Regions from separate parts of the Homo sapiens genome. Here region 1 is linked to region 2. The links are contacts of gene promoters, found by promoter capture Hi-C in human tissues and cell types (Jung and others, 2019). All regions are on one chromosome and are shown on one strand. The core of a region is centred on a gene start or on the middle of the fragment in contact, and the rest is flanking DNA. Distances in the headings are between cores, read along the strand shown.

Region 1 (6,332 bases), core at 680-3,179, 690 kb after region 2:
ATTCAAAACAGGTGAGAGAGAAACAATGCTGGTGGCAGAGCAAGAGACACCCACGGTCAGCAATCGGAGGTGCAGCCCTCTTAACTCTGTGCAGTGCTAACCTGCCGGGAGGATAATTCCTCTTAGACTCTCATGAGACAGCAGGGGCTGAGCTCGCCCTGTTCCTGTGCAGAAAGGTTATGTCTATCTTTTTATAGGTGGACATCAGGATGCCTCTGGGTTTGCTCTTCAGCAGACTGCATTCTATAAAAACACTTTAGATTCTCAAATGGTCCTGAGCCCCAGGCATTGTCATCACGGGCATGTGAATTCTTTTTTGGTGTATGCATGCATGGTACCTATGCTGTTTGCTATAGTGTTTAAGGGCCCAGATTCTGGAATTAAACAGACTTGGATTCAAATCCTGGCCGTGTGACTTTAAGCAAATAACTGAGTTTCCTCAAGCACCAGTTTTATAATCCACAAAATGGGAATACTAATAGTACCTTCTTGATAGGCTTAATGTGGCAACTGAGATGATCCATGCAAAGCACTTAGAGTTGTTCCTACAATATAAGAGATTTTTTTAATGCTTATACAGTATTATTGTTGTTGTTGTTAATCTTCCAAAACTGATCATCTTTGCAAGCCCATGCAAGAAAGTGTGCTAGACATTGAAGATATAAAGACAAAGAAGACCTAGCCCCAAAGAGTTTATAGTCTAGAGAGGCAGATGTCCTCAGGGAGCACTAAACTAAAGTCCCTTTTGAAGTACTGGGTCACCATACTCTATATTGCACCTTTATGTGAATTAGAAAAATAGATGCTCCCTTCTGCCACTCGCCTGGATTTTAGACCCTTGCCCTCTAGGCTAGGTGTCCTTGTTCAGCAAACAATCTGAATAACTGCACATGATGACCCAGGGTGATATGTGCTATGCCAGCAGCATTAGCAAAGTTGTGATTACTGTATTGCTTGCGGAAAAGTGAAATAAATCTTTACAGAGAAGGTGACATCTGAGCTGGATCCTAAGCAATTGACTAGATTTAACTAAGGCTTGCAGGAGCTGGCAGAAATGAGAGCTAAACAAAGGCACAGAGGCATGAAAAGACTTGGTGACTTCAAAGATGAGGCCAGGCAGGACCAGGACCAGCGCATGTAGGGATTAAATGCTGCACAAAAGAGATTGGTCTTTTGTCTGTAAGTACTGTGAGCTCATGATCAGCTCTGCTGGAGCATAGCCTCTGCTAGATATTTGTAAGACGGATTTGTAAACAGAGAATCAGAAGAGAAAGTCACTCTATAAATCCTGTTGGGAGGAATGAGGGTCCATACCAGATTGTGATGGAGAAGCTGCCAAAGCCAGAAATGCTACAAAGGCGGAATCTTCAGGACTTGATGGGCAGCTTTCTATGGGGACAAGGATATGAGTCAGGAGGTTTGGTGAATGTTGATGTTGTGAGACAGGGTGGAGCAGGTGGAGCCTGGACCGTGGACAAGTAACACAAGTTGGGAGAAAAAGGAATTCGAAGTAACTGTAGGGTATCCAAACATAGATATGGATCTAGAATTCATGTGAGGAATCAAGTTATAGATTTGGAAGTCATTGGTTAACAGGGTAGAACTGAAGCCATGGGAATTGACTAGATTCCCCAGAGAGGGTATGTAACCAGAAGAGAAGAGCATCTAAGACAAAAATCTTAGGAAATGTAAACAAAGGGCTGAGAGAAAAGACAAGAGTCAAAGGGAAAAAATGTAAAACCCAAATGGTGGAGAAGATCCAAGAGAGACACTGGAAAGAATGAAGGCATCAATGGTAGCCATAATTCTAGACGAGGAAGAAGTCAGGGCATTGGGCCATTAGCTGCACAGAGTTCTATCTAGTAGTAAGGGGTCTGAGAGGCAGCATTTAGGAGTTCAGAGGGGACATAACCAAAGAAGCTTCAGTAGCAAGGTAAAGGCAAAAGCCACACTGCAGAGGGGATGGCATGTGAATTTAAAGGAAGAACGTGGAAGACGGAATATAGACTATTTTCAGAGATATTAGTGAAGAAAGGAAAAGAGATAGGTGATAATGGCTTGAGGGCCAGGCAGGGTTCATGTTAGGATGGAAAGTGGAGTGGCAGAGTTTGAAGATACACGAGAGACAGGCCCCTGAAATTTTTTTTTCCTATTTCTGCTTTGGGTTGCAGGGAAATGGGAGACTGCTTTTGGGGGAGCAGAGAAATGGGAGCTCCCAGGCCATTTTGTTCTCTGATACTTCATGTTACTCACCTTTGGAGTTGAATTCTGGGCTTTCTGTAATATCAGTGTAAATTGCAAGATGGGAAACTATTTTTAAGTTTTACTAGTGGAATTGCATTTAGTCACCAGCCAAATCCAGGACCTTTGAAATAAGATATGAATTCTGAATAACAAGAGGAATGGGGAAAATGTACCAATATTTATTGCAAATCTGTTAAATCCCACTCTATGGGCTAGAAGTTTTATGCACATCATCTAATATAATCTTCACAATTGCTATATGATATAGAAGGTATTCTCTTAGAACAGTTTCGTACCTTAGAAAGACATTAAGTTATTAAAATTTTATCCAACTTTTTGTGTGTATGTCATATGAAAGAGTGTTCTTAGGTTTAACGAGATGATGAACAGGGTCCAAAATATTAAGACTTGCTGACCTAGATGACCAATATATTCATAACCTAGAGGAAAAAGATGGCAGAAAAAAATTTACTTTGAACCTATAGCTAATATCACAACATAACCATGTTGAATCAACAAGTCAGTTGAGCCCTCAACAGAAAGGTGATAAAGTTGTTGGAGTTGTTGGGAGATGTTTGTTCTTGAAGTTTGCATTGCACATTTCTTATGAGATATTCGATTGTATATAAAATACAAATGACATCTGCTGTGTGTGCATTTTAGCAGCCACTGCCAGGAAAGCATATGCCAAGATAAATAAGAAACTTAGGTGATGGATCTGAATGTGAATCAAAACCAGAAAAACAATCCATGCTGGCATAATGAGCTTCTCACAGATGATTTCTGTCATAAATGGTATGTATTGAGGGGTAATGCTAATGAAATGAGTTGAAAATATGTCTATTTTCATTATGATCATCAATTTGCAATACAAATACGTAAGAAAAACCACTTCTTCATTTTAAAGTTGGGTCCAAATGAGTGTAAGCAACTGCCAAAAATGATTACTTACTATAGTTTAAATTTTTTTTTTTTTTTTTTCCGGGACAGAGTCTCGCTCTGTCGCCCAGGCTGGAGTGCAGTGGTGTGATCTCGGCTCACTGCAAGCTCTGCCTCCTGGGTTCATGCCATTCTCTTACCTCAGCCTCCCGAGTAGCTGGGACTACAGGTGCCTGCCACCCTTGCCCAGCTAATTTTTTGTATTTTTAGTAGAGACAAGGTTTCACCATGTTAGCCAGGATGGTCTCGATCTTCTGACCTTGTGATCCACCCACCTCGGCCTCCCAAAGTGCTGGGATTACAGGCGTGAGCCACCGTGCCCGGCATATAGTTTAAAATTTTAAATCTCATTGTATATCTCATTAAGAGTTCATGGAAATTAGTGCATTGCCAAAAGATGGGCAAATCAGTGTCAATAGAAAATTTAACCAGTTTGGGATGGTTGCTTGTAGAAACACACATAAGACCAATAATAAAGCTTGAATTGTTGTTTGCATTTACTTTAAATAACCTAAATATAATTACAAATTAACACATGTTGGCATATGTATGGACACACACGTTTATCTGTGCCTATATGTAAATATATTTATGTATATATGTATTTACATACATACACATGTATTATCTAGAAACACATAGTCTCAGCAGTTTATAAAGTAGGTCAATTTAGCTTTAAGGGCAAATATTTTATATCATCTAAACTACTGCCTCCAAAACTTACCCCAATACAACAGCAACAAAAAGCACAGTTTGTATTTGGAGATCATGTCTTTCAAGATTGAATTAGTAAATTAAAGTGTTTGATATTCAGTTTACTTTAGAATGTTACCTTATTACCACGAACAGAAGCTCTTCATTATCCAAACCTCCACCTTTATGGTGGTGTTTAGAGAGGCAAACAATCATTGTAATATCAACATGTGACACATGAACCTACTGCTTATAAAATTAGTCATCATCTCTCTCACTTCCTTACACTACTGCCTCTTCAGGCCTATCCTGTCTTTGAAGATCGGTTTCTCATTCGTGTCTAATGTTACCTGACAACACAATTAAAATCAATTGCAAAGGGAAAGAGCAAATCTGGTGAAGAATGCATGGTTTCTTGAAGTTAGTGAAAATGATGGGGGAGAACTGCAAAACTAGTGAATCATGAGCTTCTGAAAGAGATTCATTTGTAACTGAGAAGGAAAAAAAGAATTGGCAAGGATAATGATAAGATAGATGCTTCCATGGAAATAATTTCAATATCAAAGTATTGGTATTAGGAAAATGGAGGGGGTTCTCAAAAAATTTAGCAAATGCGATTCTCTTTTGGATCATGCTGCAGAAGTCATGCATGATGTCAAGGATATTGCATTGTGCTATCATAATATTTGTTGCAAAATTATTTTTAGTGAAAATTATTTTGTGTTCTATAAATTATAGCATGTAATATTTTATCCTAAATTTCATTAGAGGATGACATTAACTTACATAGATTCATTTTTCAAAGTAAATTCTCAATCATACATCTTTTTTACTATTTATTATTAAAGCATAGGTCCTTTGGGATAGATTCATTTCCATGACCTTTGATAAAGACTTGTCAGTCATATCTAGACCCCTGTCTCCTCTCATCTCTTCTAGTTTGGGCACATCCTTAGTCTCCTTTGCATTAACTTTTGAGTTACTGGAAGTCTCTGTAACTATTCCTAGCTGCACAGGCAATAGATTTATGGAGGAAGGCTCTGTTTCGGATTCTATTTTTGTAATCAAAATTGCATGGGGGATTTTTGCAATCAGAATTATGGCAGATTACATATCTCCTGACATAGTGTCTGTAGAAAACATTCAGTAAGTATTTACTAAAGGAATATAGTTCTTTCAATTTACTCCGGGGTCTGATGCAGAGTTCTAGGAATAGGGTGGGTTGTGGGAGGAGGTGCTATTCCTTTTAATTCCTGTACCCTGACTCCAAAGGCAATGCCAATCTTAATAGACAATGGTCTCAGTGGATAATGTATACCTCTTCAGAGCTGCAGATAATTTCTTCATAGAATTAGTGAATTAGTAAGCAACTAGTAAGTCCTTCAGATCTACTTAGAAGGTATTTACTTCCATACTCCTTCTTACCACCCACTGACTAGGAATGCACACTATTGAAAATGAATGGGTAAAGGATAGTAGGAGGAGTGAAATGGAAAGTTGAAATCAATGCATGGAGAATCAGCTAGGAGATATATGTTCTTGTTTCCATCTCCATGTTTATGGATGTGACTTCTAAACACGATCTAGCTGTTCCATGCATATTCAAACTCTCATTTTAGGTTAGGATGAGAACTTTGCTTTATTCCTTTATGGATGCTGATGGCTCTGCACAAGCTAACTCACATGCCCTTGCTTTACTTTCCCTGGGCTCCAGCACCATACACTGCATGCAGTTCTCTAAAGCCAATATTATTAATGTGTACTGATCTACGTAAAATAAGACAGAGCTATGAATAATTTTACATGCTTTTGCTAAACATTACCCTCAATACTTCAGTCACAATTATGAAGTCTTAGAGTCATTTTTTATTCCAATTTTCCCATTTAATGAATGAGGAAGCAAGATCTTGCAAGGAGAAGAGTCCTTTGTGAGGTCATACTGCCAATAAAAGGCAACCCAGAAATTAGAACCCAGGGATCCCAACTCCCCATTCAATGTTCTGCAAATGACATGGGGTATTCCTTATAAAAGTAGCTCACAGATGTTCTCTGCTTTATAGTGCCACAAAGCAAAGTGATCATCTCCTTTTGATACTTGTTTTTACTGTGACTTTGTGATGTGGATAGCACAGGCACCATCATTCTTATTTGCAGATGTGGAGAATGAATCTGAGAGAGAGTAAGGGCCCTTTTCACAAGGCCTGCTGGCACTAGAGCCAGACAACACTGAGATGCAATACACAGCAATGCATGGACCAGCCTTCTTGCCTTCCTGCCTCCCTCTCTCCCTCCCTTCCTTCCTTCCCCCTTGCTCCCTCCCTCCCTTCCTTCTTCCCTCCCTCCCTGTTTCTCTCCCTTCCTTCTTCCTTCCTTCCTTTCCTCCTCCCTCCCTCTCCTTCCTTCCCTTCTTCATTCCTTCTCCTTGCTTCTTTCCATCCTTCCTCCTTCTTCCTTTC
Region 2 (6,888 bases), core at 3,498-5,997:
CCCAGGTTCAAGCAACTTGCCTGCCTCAGCCTCCTGAATAGTGGGATTACAGGTGCCTGCCACCATGCCCAGCTAATTTTTTTATTTTCAGTAGAGACGGGGTTTCACCATGTTGGCCAGGCTGGTCTCGAACTCCTGACCTTGTGATCCACCAGCCTCGGCCTCCCAAAGTGCTGGGATTACAGGCATGAGCCACCGTGCCCAGGCTACATGCTTACTTTAAAATATTTTTATCATTTGTCTCATAGTGATAAATGAAACTAATTTTATATATGCACAGATAGGATAAAACTAAATTACAAGGACTACAAGAAACAGACACTCATATTTTAGTAGAGCACATGGTGGTTTTGTTCATCAGTTGAACAATCAGCATCTCAGATAGATCCAACTGAAGAACTTGTTCCTGGACTTTTGTACTAAAATATACTAAAACCAAAAGTCAAAACATTAGTTAACAGGAAATTGTTCGGATACATGTAGTAAAAGAGAATTGACAGCATGATTTCCAAATCGATTGTGCCAAATAAGTTTTTCCAAATGAAAAGTCCAACATACTGTGATGAATTCCTCTCATGGTCTTGCACTTTGCTTTACATTTGTTTCTATATTTGATCTTGTGGCTAAAACACCGATTTGCAAGTAATGATTTGGACCACCAAGCTGTACTGAATGCAACTCAAATGAATGCCTGTGGACTTCAAGACAGATACTACAGACATCGTCCACAGTATCGGCCAAAATTCCAGTAACAGCAATAGGCACTTTCTCTGTGACTTCTGTAGACCATAAGAATAGAAGATAAGGCCATATTGTCAGGGAAAGGTTGAATTTTGTGAAAAATGACTCCTTTTGAAGAATTGCCATGACTGGCAATAGTGGTGAACAACCTTTCCATTGGAATGACTGTCTTTGCATCAGCACCATGCACCATAAGGGCTGGTGACTGGAGGAACATTCAGCAGCCAGAAAAATTAAACTGCCTGAATAAGAGTAGGCTGGCAAGTTTGAAGTGCTGACAGTAGGCTGCAGTGTATCTTGAAATAAACATCTATCTATTGGGAGAGGTGAAATGAAATTTTCTCAATAATAAAACCACTAAAAAAAAGTTTTTGAACTTAACCTGCAGGACCTGCAAAGACAAAGTGTTCAACTGATCTTTATTTTTTTATGAAAACCGATTTTTTTTTTGAGACAGGGTCTCACTCTGTCGCTCAGGCTGTAGTGCAGTGGCACAATCTCGCCTCACTGCAGCCTCGACCTCCTGGGCTCAAGTGATCCTCCCACCTTGGCCTCTGGAGTAGCTGGGAATACAGGTGCACACCAGCACGCCCAGCTTACTTTTTTTATTTTGTGTAGAGACTGGGTTTTACCATGTTGCCTAGGCTGGTCTTGAAATTCTGGACTCAAGCAATCCACCTGCTTCAGCCTCCCAAAACGCTGGGATTACAAGTGTAAGCAAACATGCCCGGCCCAAAATTGGTTTTTCCACAGAGACGACAATCTGAAATTACTACTAATTAAAATATTTTCCCGGCCGGGCGCGGTGGCTCACGCCTGTAATCCCAGCACTTTGGGAGGCCGAGGCGGGTGGATCATGAGGTCAGGAGATCGAGACCATCCTGGCTAACAAGGTGAAACCCCGTCTCTACTAAAAATACAAAAAATTAGCCGGGCGCGGTGGCGGGCGCCTGTAGTCCCAGCTACTCGGGAGGCTGAGGCAGGAGAATGGCGTGAACCCGGGAAGCGGAGCTTGCAGTGAGCCGAGATTGCGCCACTGCAGTCCGCAGTCCGGCCTGGGCGACAGAGCGAGACTCCGTCTCAAAAAAATAAAAAAATAAAAATAAAATAAAATAAAATAAAATATTTTCCCATGTTAGCCAATACTTTAACTCTCTTAAAGGTCTCCTTTACATCCCAAATGAAACAAAAGACTCATTACCTGACAGACTGTACTTTTTGTACTTTAACTTTCTTGGAGTCATTTCCTTTTTCACAGTCTTCATTTTTCTTTTGCAAATTAACTAAAAAATAGAGTTACATTTTCTAATTAGCATTCACGTAAAAATAAATCAGGAAATTTACTGGAGTTCACTTTAAGCATCCACTACACACCAATGTGGATGCAGTTTTTATTTGTATGAAATACAGGGAATAGGCCCCAGCTAACCTTGGCCAGGCCCATGCTGGCTTTCTAAGGGCCATTCATATTTGACTGGAAACATCTGCAAGTGCACTTGACACTTACATGAGAAGTTAGTTAAATTAGAATAGTCATACCTTCTTTCACCTTTCCTGGCGATTTCTTGATGCTAAGGAAAAAAAACAAAACCACTGACTGCAATGGCAGTAAAGATTACTCAAAACATGTTATATTATTTCATTTGCCTTTACAAGTAAGACACCCCCTTTCATTACCAACACCCTCAATTTCTACTCAGGAGCTCTCATCAGTTTGGAAAGCAATAGTCACTCCCTAGTACACTGCCACCAACTCTCAAGCATTGGAAGATCTTCACAGTTAAAATCTGAGAGCCTATTAGCAGGCTTTCAAAGCAGCAAAATGCTGTGGGCAATGGAGTTCAAGTGAAACACTTGTTCAGAACAAGTTATAAAGTATTTGAAATATGAAGTGAATGGGAGTAGGTCTGCCTCATTTCATTTGGAGAAATCACAAAGGATTAATTTAATAGTTTAGGCACAGGAGACAGGGAACAGCCTCAAGGGGGCTGTGGCCCAATGGAGAGAGAAATGTAAATGGACAGAATACAATACAGAAGCATTTGCACAGGAGAAAGGCCACACAAAAGCGGAAGTGATGGGAGGTGGGGGGGGGCAAATGAGAAGGTAAAGGTGACACTTGAGCTTGGTTTTAAAAGATGAAAGGGAATTTGCCACCAAATAGATTTGCTCTTACGTTTAATGTATTCAGGATCTGAGTAACTCTTTGGTAAAGTTTTTTTACTGAAAACTTGAGAGTCACTGGCCTAAGCAAAAGGGGGCTGAATTTCTGAATTTAAAGCCTTAAGGGGAGAAAAAGAGGATAGAAAAAAAAAAATTTAGAAGGCTAAATTTAGTAGGGTTTGATCAATTCCCAAAGACGACTATAGCTTTTCGCTTTAAACCATAAAACACCAAAGATGCTAAATGAAGTGGGGAACAGGAAGGACAGGTTGGTGGCAGGTAAGGCAAGTATGGGACAAATCAAGTTTTCAGAGCCTGTGGATAAGTGCCTGCTACCCCACTAAATGATTCAAAACACTTTTTATTCACCACCACCCACTATGCCCTAGTACAATGACAGGCAGTCAACAAAATGTACTGAATGAACACAATGGGATCAGGAATTCAAAAGCTAGCTATGGGAATGAACAAAAATAAATGGTAAAATAAGAAGTAGAACGTTACCTCCGTCTTTCCCATCAAATTCATATACCAAGGTAGCTTTTGAATTTGGGTTCTACAATTCCTTCAGTTATATGGATTCAAATAAATGTACCAGTATATAATTCAAAGATGGGTGTATATAAGCAAGTAATATAAAAAGATCCATTACTTACTTAGTCTGTGAAGCTGTGGTTAACTTCTCCAAAATAGTGTCTGGAAGGAGTTTTCTTTTCTTTTGGAATGAAAACGTTTAAAATTAATAGAAAGTCATGTACATAGTATGTCCGGAGTTGCTTCTGAAGTTACCGCTTTTAAGAATGCCCTACATCTAGGCAAAGAAATGAATTAGGCTGGAAACTGCCCCCATACCTCTAAGCTATGGGAAGACCGGGTCCACAAAACTCCACATTCTCTGAAAGACTTGATGAAAACTAGAAAGGGTGCCCACGGTATTCTAACCCTCAGGTCACTGTTATAAATTGAAAGCAGTTAAGTAATGTCTGCCTGGAGCCAGCTCTCTGTGTCGAGTATCAGACAGCAAAGCAACCATACACTAAGTCTGTACAGCCCTTACAGTTTACAAATCACCTCATTTAATTCTCACAGCAACCTCTTATTTTCAGTTGGTGGACACTAAAGGAGACGAACTTTTTTTTTTTGAGACAGGGTCTCGCTCTGTCGCCCAGGCTGGAGCGCAGTGGTGTGATCTCGGCTCCAGGCAGCCTCGACATCCCGGGCTCCGCCCACCTCGTCCAACTAAAGTACTGCCGCGCCCGGCCCGAGCATCTTTCCACCACTGTCAGAGGCAATCTTGGTGACTGTTTCCCCACTCCAATATCCTGCCAACCCAAATTACATCCACCATAGGAATTCTCCCTGAGCCGAGTTGTTTTAATAAGACACCTCCTCCCTAGCCTCTAACCTTCTGTTCGATGAACAGCTCCTCGCGTCGCTTCCTCTTCTCCTTCAGGAGCGTTTTATCCCTGGGAGGAAGGGTGATAAGTCAGCAAAGGGAAGGACAAGCGGGACGAGAAAGGGCGGTTCTCCCCGCCGGGCAGCGGGCTCCGAACCTGCGCACGGTCTCCCGCACTCGCCGCTCCTCTTCTCTCGCTTCCGCCTGGGCGCTGGCGAAAGTCAGCTCCTCCGGGGCCTCATCGTCAAACTCATCGTCCCCTTCCTCGTCTTCCTCCAGGGGCTCGGCGGCCGCGCCGCTGCTGGGCTGCCCGAGCAACAGCCCGTGCTCCGCCTCCTCCTCCTCCGAGGCCAGCTGGCCCTCGTCCACCATCGCCTCCGCCGACGCCGGGGCGCGAGACGCTCGCGGTCGGAGCTGCACCATGGCCCACGCAGCGCTAGACCGTCTGACCTCTGACCCGGAAGCAGCTACAAGCGGAGCGCAAGCCTACTTTCATCGCCCCCTGCAGGTTCGGAGGTCCTCAGGACGGGTGGGGCGCATGCGCGAAGGGAGGAAGGGCGTGGCCTGTAGGCAGTGGGCGTGTTTCTTTCCACGTGGCCAGCGCAGGCCGCCTTGGAGCCGGATGGACCCCACGGAAAATGCTCTGCCGGCGAAAGCGGCTGGCAATGGGGTTGATTTCAAGGCAGGGAAGAGCCATCGCGCTGCCCTCCTCGGCTGGGATGGCGAGACAGGGCTGGCACGGCTCACGCTGTCCGGTGCTCAGAAAACCGGTAATCGCGGGCCCGAGGCGCTGCTCGCCGCCGTTTTTTGGCCCTGGGTTCCGTCGAGTGGATCCAGCTTGTCAGTCTTTGTGTAGATTTGGCTGCGTTCGCTCCGCACTTCGGAGGAGGTGGCGTTTCATGGGAAGAAATGCGCTCTAGCAGATGGCCGCCGTGGCCAGTCAGCCCTGCTGCCACCGACGAAGACGCGGGCGACAGACCTGGACTCTAAAGAAATCTGCACAGACGTGCCCGGCGCCCTCGGCCTTCCCAGCTCCGCGGCCGCAGCGACGCCGGTTAGGATGTCGGCCCTGTGGGAGGGGCGCCCTTCCTGGTGCCGGGCCCTAACCCACGACCTGGAACAGCAGCTGGCCCGTGGCAAATGCTGAGCATATCTCCTGAAAGAATGGCTTCGCCGGTCCCTAGAGAATGCACCCGAGTTTTGTGGTATATACACATACGTACTTTTTTTCCAAGTATATTTTATTTCTTGGCAAACATGGCCCTTTGTGATCGCTGTGTTTCTCTCCTCCCATCCATTATACAACACTAAGTGATTCATCATTCTTTGAACAAATCAAACTGTTTCACACCTGCCATGCATTTGTACCGACCGTGCTCTTCCCTCTACTGCCGCAGCCCCCCAGGTAGAAGTCCTTTTTATACTTCAAAAATTCCCACCCAGGCAAATTTCAAGCACCTTACCCCTACCCCATCCCACTCTGCCCATCTCTAATTGCGCTGGTCTGAACCCGCACAAATGTCTGTGTAGTTTCTGCACTTCATAACAGCTTATATGACAGTTGCTCCAGCCATTCTGTGAACCCCTGAGGGGAAGGGCCAGGTCTTGCTAGTCATTTTATTTCTAATGTCTATCATCTGGTAGATGTTTAATAAATGCTAAGTTGAATAATTCTATCTTACACATATATTGTATTTTTAATTCTCTTTTCATGTCTTCTGTTTTAGAAGCAATTCTCAATTTAAAAACGACAAAACCAAATAGGAACAAAAATGATAAAACTTGAAAACAACAACAACAAAAAAAGCTGCTGAACCAGAGGTTCAGTATGAGAGGAATTGCAAAGAACAGTTTTGAAATCTCTAGGCCTTAGTCAGATAGAAATTACAAATCAAAAATATAATCAGACTCCCTGAGACACTAACACTAGGAAAATGAATAAAGTTAACTTGGAGCAGCCCAAGAACAAACTTATAAGTGCATGATGGTATTTTATGTGCAAAACTGCTTTATAAGTACTATAAGACTATTACAGGTATTACCAGTGCCCTCAGTGTAAACTCCTTGGCCCACCCATGTAAAGTGTACATCGAGCCCTCAGGGTCCCTGACTGGTTCTCCAGCCGCCCCATAGGCTATGAGCATCCCCGTTCCCTACACAAAGGACCACTGGGATTTATTAAAGGTTATGCCTTGCAATGCAGTACAAAGTTTTATATGATAGTGTCTTGTTGCCTGTTTCTACAAAAGCCAAGGGTGTAACATTAAATGCAATTTTGCAAGGGGCTGAGGTGATGTGGTCCAAGTATGTAATCACTTCAGGGAGCCATATGTGACCTTCATACACTGTTGATAATGGCCATGCCTCCCAGTCAGGCCTGTGACACCTGCTGGACAGCAGGCATTCCAAGGCCCCTAAGCACTGAGTTAGCTGGTAAAGGTTAAGGAAAAAGCTGTATTCTTACTACTTTACTCCAAGGTAGTAAAGTGTATGGAAGATGTACCTGACAGAAATAACTTAAGCATCCCCTGAGAATGACCCTGTATGGCAGATGCATCTGACAGCAATAACTTAAGAAGTGAGGGTTG

Evidence for each region. Contacts are between HindIII fragments. The study calls those that stand out against the background at their distance.
Region 1: a contact is called between a fragment that was not itself captured here and the fragment with the promoter of NOL7 in region 2, in 1 of the 25 tissues and cell types used here (dorsolateral prefrontal cortex).

The regions. Positions count from the first base shown.
Region 1 is chr6:12,921,670-12,928,001 of GRCh38, reverse strand. All of the region lies in intron 4 of PHACTR1 (phosphatase and actin regulator 1), which reads right to left. Among named protein-coding and RNA genes, the nearest start is that of PHACTR1, 210 kb to the right of the region's middle. The HindIII fragment of the contact is 6,648 bases long and covers 1-5,253 here.
Region 2 is chr6:13,613,194-13,620,081 of GRCh38, reverse strand. NOL7 (nucleolar protein 7) reads right to left here and starts at 4,747. Exons shown (of 8, transcript NM_016167.5): 1 at 4,458-4,747; 2 at 4,310-4,370; 3 at 3,561-3,619; 4 at 2,281-2,312; 5 at 1,943-2,024. The coding sequence starts at 4,723. SIRT5 (sirtuin 5) reads right to left here. Exons shown (of 10, transcript NM_012241.5): 10 at 4,924-6,888. LOC124901263 (a long non-coding RNA gene) reads left to right here and starts at 4,880. Exons shown (of 2, transcript XR_007059461.1): 1 at 4,880-6,888. RefSeq lists an enhancer at 5,365-5,534. The HindIII fragment of the contact is 29,829 bases long and covers 1-6,888 here.